Regions from separate parts of the Homo sapiens genome. Here region 2 is linked to region 1. Evidence: promoter capture Hi-C in human tissues and cell types (Jung and others, 2019). All regions are on one chromosome and are shown on one strand. Each heading gives the region's core, a stretch centred on a gene start or on the middle of the fragment in contact. The rest is flanking DNA. Distances are from core to core; before and after follow the strand shown.

Evidence for each region. Contacts are between HindIII fragments. The study calls those that stand out against the background at their distance.
Region 2: a fragment that was not itself captured here is called in contact with the fragment with the promoter of STARD3 in region 1 in 4 of the 25 tissues and cell types used here (dorsolateral prefrontal cortex, hippocampus, lymphoblastoid cells and 1 more).

What each region holds. Positions count from the first base shown.
Region 1 is chr17:39,635,021-39,639,110 of GRCh38, forward strand. STARD3 (StAR related lipid transfer domain containing 3) reads left to right here and starts at 2,124. Exons shown (of 15, transcript NM_006804.4): 1 at 2,124-2,211. It overlaps PPP1R1B (protein phosphatase 1 regulatory inhibitor subunit 1B), which reads left to right. Exons shown (of 7, transcript NM_032192.4): 6 at 587-706; 7 at 796-1,604. The coding sequence ends at 845. It overlaps LOC124903998 (a long non-coding RNA gene), which reads right to left and starts at 2,270. Exons shown (of 2, transcript XR_007065749.1): 1 at 1,971-2,270; 2 at 1-6. RefSeq lists enhancers at 269-892, 2,676-2,795 and a silencer at 2,066-2,135. The HindIII fragment of the contact is 10,179 bases long and covers 1-4,090 here.
Region 2 is chr17:40,073,371-40,077,460 of GRCh38, forward strand. THRA (thyroid hormone receptor alpha) reads left to right here. Exons shown (of 9, transcript NM_199334.5): 2 at 822-1,171; 3 at 3,501-3,568. The coding sequence starts at 1,119. Among named protein-coding and RNA genes, the nearest start is that of THRA, 12 kb to the left of the region's middle. RefSeq lists enhancers at 1,414-2,269, 2,393-2,472. The HindIII fragment of the contact is 5,644 bases long and covers 1-4,090 here.

The DNA.
Region 1 (4,090 bases), core at 874-3,373:
CCCCATCTGTAATAAAAATACAAAAATTAGCCAGGCACAGTGGCACACACCTGTAATCCCAGCTGCTTGGGAGGCTGAGGCAGAAGAATCCCCTGAACCTGGGAGGTGGAAGTTGCAGTGAGCTGAGATCGCACCACTGCACTCCAGCCTGGGCAACAGAGTGAGACTCCATCTCAAAAACAAAAACAAAAAACCAAAACAAAACAACAAAAAAAAACAAACAAACAAAAAATGCAGAAGGGCACCGGGTCAAATGATAGTCCTATGATGGAGCAATATAAACCACCACGACTCCTAGTGGCTCCTGGGTGCTGGCGCTGGGCTGGGCAGGGTATTCACTATTACATCTTGTTTAAGGTAATCTACACAATTTCCCCCTTTCTATTTCCTTCAGAAAGGTACTAACTGACTTACGTAAGCCATATGGCTAGTTGCTGGGAGAGCTGTTCTAGCCCAGTTCTCTCTCCATGCTTCCATGATGCCCCTGGAAAGCTTAACCTCAGCCATCAGACACTTAGCTCACACTCCAGGACAGCCGGATGGATACGCAGAGCCTGTGTTCTTATCTCTTCTTTCCCATCCCCAGCTGGGCAAAAGACAACCTGTGGCCAGGGTCTGGAAGGGCCCTGGGAGCGCCCACCCCCTCTGGATGAGTCCGAGAGAGATGGAGGCTCTGAGGACCAAGTGGAAGACCCAGCACTAAGTGGTAAGGCTTGGGAGTGTGAAATGGGGAGGAGGGGCTGGGATCTTGGTGGGTGGGGCCAGGCCCTGAGTCCCTCTCTGCTTGCCTTTCAGAGCCTGGGGAGGAACCTCAGCGCCCTTCCCCCTCTGAGCCTGGCACATAGGCACCCAGCCTGCATCTCCCAGGAGGAAGTGGAGGGGACATCGCTGTTCCCCAGAAACCCACTCTATCCTCACCCTGTTTTGTGCTCTTCCCCTCGCCTGCTAGGGCTGCGGCTTCTGACTTCTAGAAGACTAAGGCTGGTCTGTGTTTGCTTGTTTGCCCACCTTTGGCTGATACCCAGAGAACCTGGGCACTTGCTGCCTGATGCCCACCCCTGCCAGTCATTCCTCCATTCACCCAGCGGGAGGTGGGATGTGAGACAGCCCACATTGGAAAATCCAGAAAACCGGGAACAGGGATTTGCCCTTCACAATTCTACTCCCCAGATCCTCTCCCCTGGACACAGGAGACCCACAGGGCAGGACCCTAAGATCTGGGGAAAGGAGGTCCTGAGAACCTTGAGGTACCCTTAGATCCTTTTCTACCCACTTTCCTATGGAGGATTCCAAGTCACCACTTCTCTCACCGGCTTCTACCAGGGTCCAGGACTAAGGCGTTTTTCTCCATAGCCTCAACATTTTGGGAATCTTCCCTTAATCACCCTTGCTCCTCCTGGGTGCCTGGAAGATGGACTGGCAGAGACCTCTTTGTTGCGTTTTGTGCTTTGATGCCAGGAATGCCGCCTAGTTTATGTCCCCGGTGGGGCACACAGCGGGGGGCGCCAGGTTTTCCTTGTCCCCCAGCTGCTCTGCCCCTTTCCCCTTCTTCCCTGACTCCAGGCCTGAACCCCTCCCGTGCTGTAATAAATCTTTGTAAATAACTGCTGAGACTCCTCTTTCAGGGGAAGCAGGAGGAAAAGGGAGGTAATGGGGCGTCCTGATAGGGAAGGCCGGTGGTCAACCAAGGGTTAGGGTTTTGACCCTACTGTCCAATCCTCTAGTCTAGGAGTCTTTCTGGCAGACAGCAGGCTCGGGGCACTCAGAGGAAGAACTACAGAAGTTCTAGCTGCTGCTTGGGATGGCTGAAGGAGGCAGGTGGGGTGGGGAAGTCCTTCTCGAATAACTGGATTCCTCCAAAGATTTCCCCATCCCCACAGGACTCCCCTCGGGAAATTCCCCTTTTTCCCTCAGTGCCAGGCCTGTGTGGCCTAATAACGACGGCCCTGGTCTTCTTCCCACTCCCCTACCCTTAGGTAGGCCCTTAGACTCCGGCCTTTGAGTCCGCTTCTGCGCAGGGCCGGGGCTGGAGGCGGGGCGAAGGGGCGGGGCCGCAGGCGAACGCAAGTCCCGCTTCGCTCTCGGGGGCGGACTCAGCGGCGGAAGTGGCGCTGCCGGAAGATCTTCTTCCGCTCTGAGGCGCTACTGAGGCCGCGGAGCCGGACTGCGGTTGGGGCGGGAAGAGCCGGGGCCGTGGCTGACATGGAGCAGGTGGGTCCCGGAGCGGTCGCTGGGAGCGGGTGGCGTGCGAGGGCCGTCTTCCGCCGGTCGAACCCGCTTCGCCGCCCGCTGTCCGTGCTGGGTTCCGTCCGACCCTTCCCACACCCGCTGCGTCTCAGGTTCCGCCCCCTTCCTCTGTCTGGCCTCGCGCCGCCCCGCGCGGGTTGGGGTCTCCAGCAATGACTCTTGGCGACCCCGCCTATCCTGGGGAGCCCGGGGAGGACGTTCGGGATCTCCTTCCAAAGCCTCCGTCTTAACTGAGGGGAGAGGAGAGGGTGAGGTGTCTGGGTGTTATGAGCAGGGGCAGGTATGGGGAGGGGTCGGAATCTGGGGTGAGAGGAAAACATCTACGCATTCCGGTAGCTCTGCGTCTCAGTGTCATCCCGTGTCTCCCCAACTTCCTTTCGAAACGGCCGTGAATAACTTCCTAATTGGTATTAAAAGGGCCCTTTGAAGTCTTGAGTTCTTAGAGGTGCATAGTACCATTGACACTCATTTCTAATGACACGTTCCCTCACCCCGCATTTTTGGGTTAGTCAATGTCTCCTGGTTTTCTTCGTACCGCTCTGACAGTCGGTCAAAGTCCCGCTTCACGTTTTCCTCTGTCGCCCAACCCCTCGCTCTGTACACTGAATCTCAGTGGTCTTATTTTCCCCCACGGCTTCAGCTTTACACCAACTAAATACCCAGATCCACATCTTCAGCGCAGCCCTTCCCTGGAGCTCCACGCTTGCCCATCCAGCGGCCATTGGGACAGCTCTGCTTCACATGGAGCTCACTGGGTCCAAACTTGAACTGGTCTTTTCCTTGCAGATTAATTCTTCCTCTACCCCAACCCAGCCGGAAGTCTGGTAATTTCCTTACACTTTCTCCTCTCTTTCAAGTCCCACATCTTAAAAGTGACCTAGTACTGCCAACTTCCTGAACATCCTTCAAACCTGGGCCAGCTCCATCTCTTCTGTTACCACGCTGTTGATGTATTGTCAATTCCCAACAGTCCAGCCCTGGCAGCTTGCAACCCAGTCTCCAAACTGTAACTCTTGTGATCCTTTTAGAACACAAGTCTTACGGTGCCAGTTCCTTGCTGATAACCTTTTTCTGGCTTTCTATTGCCTATGTGCTGAACCCCTAGCACAATTTACACAGCTCTCTGTGATCTGACCTAGCAGTCTCCTGTGTGCACCCTAAGGTCCAATAATACGGCACTGCAGCATGCGCCATGCCTACCCTTGCTGTTCGTATCTTCATGACTTTGCACACACCAGCCCCCGCTGCTTGGAAACCTCCTCCTTCTCTTGTCTGCTGGGCTACCTTCTACATGTTTTTCAGCGCAGGCAGCGCTGCCTCCGCCTAACCCCCAAGGTTAATTGCCCTTCTGTGTCCTGTAGCACCCTGTCCATAATAGCATAGTAGCTGAGAATACAGACTCCTGGATCAGACTGCCTGGGTTCTGACCTGTTTGGTAACCTTGATGAAGTCAGTGCCTCAATTTCCTCACTTGTAAAATGGAGGTAGGAATGTCTCTACTTCATAGAGTTGTGAGGATTGAATGGAATATTGTATGTTTAGGTCTTAAACCAGTGCTAGGCACAAGAATGCTCAATAAATTAAAGTGAGTTGCCTGGGTGCAGTGGCTCATGCATTAATCCTAGTACTTTGGGAGGCAAGGCAGGATGATCGCTTGAGGCCAGGGGTTTGCAACTAGCTTGGGCAACATAGTGAGACCCCATCGCTACAAAAATTTAAAAAACTAGCTGAGCATGGTGGTACGTGTGGGAGGATCCTTTGAGCCCAGGAATTTGAAGTTACAACGAGATATGGTTGTGCCACTGCACTCTAGTGTGAGGGACAGAGTGAGATCCTGTTTCTA
Region 2 (4,090 bases), core at 635-3,134, 440 kb after region 1:
CAGCCACCTGCTTACTAGTTGTGTGAACTTGAGTGAATGACCAAGCTTTCTGAGACTCAGTTTCCTCATCTGTGAAGTTCTCGTGCCCTCTTTGGAGGGTACAGATTCTCTCTCCAGTTAATATGTGTTAGTTTCCTTTCCTTTCCCCCTTGCCATCCTGGTCGATAGCAGCTCAGCTAAACCAACTGAGAAGTCTGGTCCTCTGCCTGGGAAGTGGGATTCGAGACCTTGCGTGGGAAGCTCTGGAGTCCCTGAGGGGCCAGAGTTGGGGATCATAACTTGGCTGGCAGCATGGGAGGTCAGTTCCCTACAGCTTTCAACATCTCTCTCTATTAAGGCACAAAGATGGGCATTCATGCTCACTGCGTGCCGCTCTATGTCCCATCCTTCCTTCACAGATACCCTCCCTGCCTATGCTGAAAACTGCTTGTCTCTGGTCCCCTCTTGCCCCTATAATACAGATGAGTTTCAGGAAAGCTTTTCTAGAGGGGTGGTAACAATAGCTAGTGTTTAATAGTTGCTCATTAAGGGCCAGGCATTTGTCTGAATATGAAGACTGAGACATATTACTTAGTACATGAATGATCTCATTCTCTCCCTCCATTCCTTCCCATGTCTGGGGCTTAGGAGGTGGATCTCCAATCTCGCCTGCTGTACCTGTTATCTAAGGGATCATCCTGGTCCCCTCTCTATGCCTGCCCTTCCTGCCCCCTGCTGTCTTGTTATGGGATCCCAAAGCCCCAAATGTTGCCACCAAAGGGATCCTACCCACCTTCCTACCGTGACACCTTCTTACCCCTGCCTCTCTCTTCTCTCCACAGGGATCTCTGGACAGGACAAGACTCCGAAGCTACTCCCCCAGCACACAGCCCGGGACCCACAAACCCAGCTTGCCCCCAGCCCTCCCACCTGCCACTCCCTGGCCCCTCCCACCGCCCGCCCCCCTTGGGGCGCAGGGCATGGTGTGAAAGGCCAAGTGCTGAGGCGGGTATCATGGGTGCTGTGCCCTAGGGCCTGGGTGGCAGGGGGTGGGTGGCCTGTGGGTGTGCCGGGGGGGCCAGTGTGCCCACCCCAGTCTCTTGGCGTGCTGGAGGGCATCCTGGATGGAATTGAAGTGAATGGAACAGAAGCCAAGCAAGGTGGAGTGTGGGTCAGACCCAGAGGAGAACAGGTAATGGGTTCAGCAACTAGGTCATGCCAACTCCTAAGCAGCAGGCATGGGCACCTGGCTGAGCTCTCCTTTAGGCACCGCCTTTAAGCACCTCTGTGGGATGGACGTGAGGCCAGCAAGCCTTCTGCCTACCTTTGTCTGGCAGATGAAGTCATGTTCAGATGTGACAGGCACTTGGATTGAGAGATGCTCATTTTGAAGCGGGGAGCGATACAGAGCAATTACAGGGAGCACATAAGGGGCTCTTCCCTAGACATTGCTGGGCAGTCTCAGATGCCCCCAACGTCCCTTCCACCATTGCTGCCCTTACCTTGAGCATGTGGGATCCAAACAGCCTTGCCATTTTCTTCCTCTCCCTACCAGCCCATTTACTATCTGACCACAAGTGTGTTGTCCACAAGCTGCGGTTCACGTAATACATTTCAGGGCACATGCACCAGTAACTATTGGTCATAGCCCAAGCTTATATTCGGAATCTATTGGGAGCCCCACAAGCTCTTCCTTGTTCATGGTCAAGGGCGGGCACTGCGATGGGGCTCCTCCCAGAAAGTGCACGCCAACCATGATGGTTTTGCTTCCACATGGGTGAGGTGTCAGCCCTGCACATACACCAAGGGATGGTTACCTGTGATCTGCATTGCCCTTGAGGAGCCCAGAGGGTCTCTGTCTTTTCTATCAGCTCCAAGTGGCACAGAGCTTTGTCCCAGTTGGCACGGTGCCCTGGGAGCTGGGTACAGCCTGTGCCTATGGCCAGGGAGAGGGTGGGGGTGGGGGTGCTCCGGGGAGCAGTGTGGCTGACTGTTGCCTAGGAGATCAGATCCCGAGCCAGGAAGCCAGAGGCCTGGCCAGGCAAAGCCCTAAGGCCCACAACTGGGTCCCTGGAGGGTAGAGGAAGTAGATGGAACTCACAGCTGGGCAGGGCATGGGGTAGCTCCCCTCCCCCAAAGCCTCACCCCAGGAAGGACTCTGAGGACGATCTGGCCTGTCGCTGTGTGGCTGTCACTTGCAGCCCCTGTGTCTCCCAGCTTAGGCTTCTGTGGGTCTGGAAGAGTCTGTGCTTAATGTTTGGAGAAAGGCAGGAATGCCAGTTCCCAGTCTCCTAAGACTGCAACCCCTCCCCCATCACCTTCCCCTCCCCCATGTCTATGCGCCACCTTGTGGCTATCTCTAGGACTACACTCAGAGGCTGTGAGTCTGGTGGTAACTGCTGAAGCCGCTAGCTCAACTGGGGCCTAGGTGGGCTGAGTTCCCCTGCACCCAACCCTCTGGGAGGCGTGAGGGAGACCTGACCTTTCAGCCTCATAGGAAGTAGACCGGAGTAATCCCCACGGGGCGTGGAGCATAGGGTTGTCTGTGACTGTGACCCTGGCCAAGGTCACTGTGTCAGTGTGTTGGGAGCTGCATCCGGCTCCAGGAGGAAGGGGCCTGCAACATGCCACACGCAGGGTGGGTGCGGGAGGTTATACAATCCTTGCATGCATGTAGAGGGCTTATGTAACCTGTGTGCACCGAGGTTATGCAACATGTATGTGGAGAGCCTGGCAACATATATGTGCAGTGGCTGAGGGTTGCTAATAATACGCTGCACAGAGGGGCTCAGTCCCGGCTCTGACTCTAGCTCATGGTGTCACCAGGCACAAGCAGGGTCTCAGTTTGCTGCTCTGTTAAATGGAGGCTGTGCAGAGGGTGTAGTGTTTTCTATTGCTGTGGGTTATTTAGCATGTGTGTATGACCTGGAGCTCAAGCAACACGTGCACACTGGAGGGATGAGGGTGGTTTTATGAGGTGCCTGTGCAGAGTGTTGTGTAACACATGGGCATATCCTAGAGGTTGTATAGCACATTTAAGAATGCCCTGAAAATTTCACAGGTATGTTGGCCCTGGTGCATACTCACCATCCATGGGTTTATAGTGAAGGTTGCATGGTTATTCATCTGTGCCGGTGTTATGTTGCATATGTATGTGTGTGTTCTAAAGGCTACATAGCTTTAAGCATATCCTGAGAATTCTTCCAGCGTATTCGTCATGTACTGAAAGATGAGGATGTCCTGCAGATTATGGGTGCTTCAGGTCTTCTGGCGGGTGAATGTGTGTGTGTTGGGGCTCTAGAATATGCTTGTGCCACAGCCAAGCCCCTTATCTCTCTCCCCTGCAACTTCCAGATAACTGGACCCTTTTAAGCATTGTCAGCTGACCCTGGGGGGTGGGAGGTAGAATGAGGACACAAAATGGAAAGAATCAGGCCTTGGGGGATTGCATAAGCCTCTCGGATGAGAAAGGGGCTACTCGAAGACTGCTCTGTGATTCTGCCCACTTTGCCTCCATCCAGTGCCAGGTCACCAGATGGAAAGCGAAAAAGAAAGAACGGCCAATGTTCCCTGAAAACCAGCATGTCAGGTGAGGCTGGCTGTGCGTGCCCCTTCTCCACGTCCCCAACCCCACCAAACCCAGCCAGGGCTCCTCTGGACCTGGATGTGGAACAGTAATTCATGTGTTCCCTGGGGGGAGCCTCCTAGAGGGCTTGGGATGGACTTGTCTGGGGGTGAGAAAGGTAATGTGGGATGTGCCCAGCTTTTGAGGGTGGATTAGGTCAGGACGGCCTCTTCCCTCTTCCCCTAATACCCTCATCTGAGGCCCTACCAGAATCAGGGCCTGAGCTGAAGGACTGAGGGGCTGTATTATCCCCAGTGAGCAGCTGACGTTTATTTTTCCCTCTCCACCATCCTCTGCCTTGTAGATAGATCAAGAAGAAAGCCCTGAATGGGCAGTCAGAAGAACTGAGATTCTTCATACTCTTAGGGCAGAGATGGACAGGTTCACCTCGTGTCTCTCTAGGATTCTACCAGGGAGGCTGGGCTAGGAGAGGGGTCAGAAACAAAAAGTTGAGGGATGGGGAAAAGTGTGAGAGCCTCTCTGCTG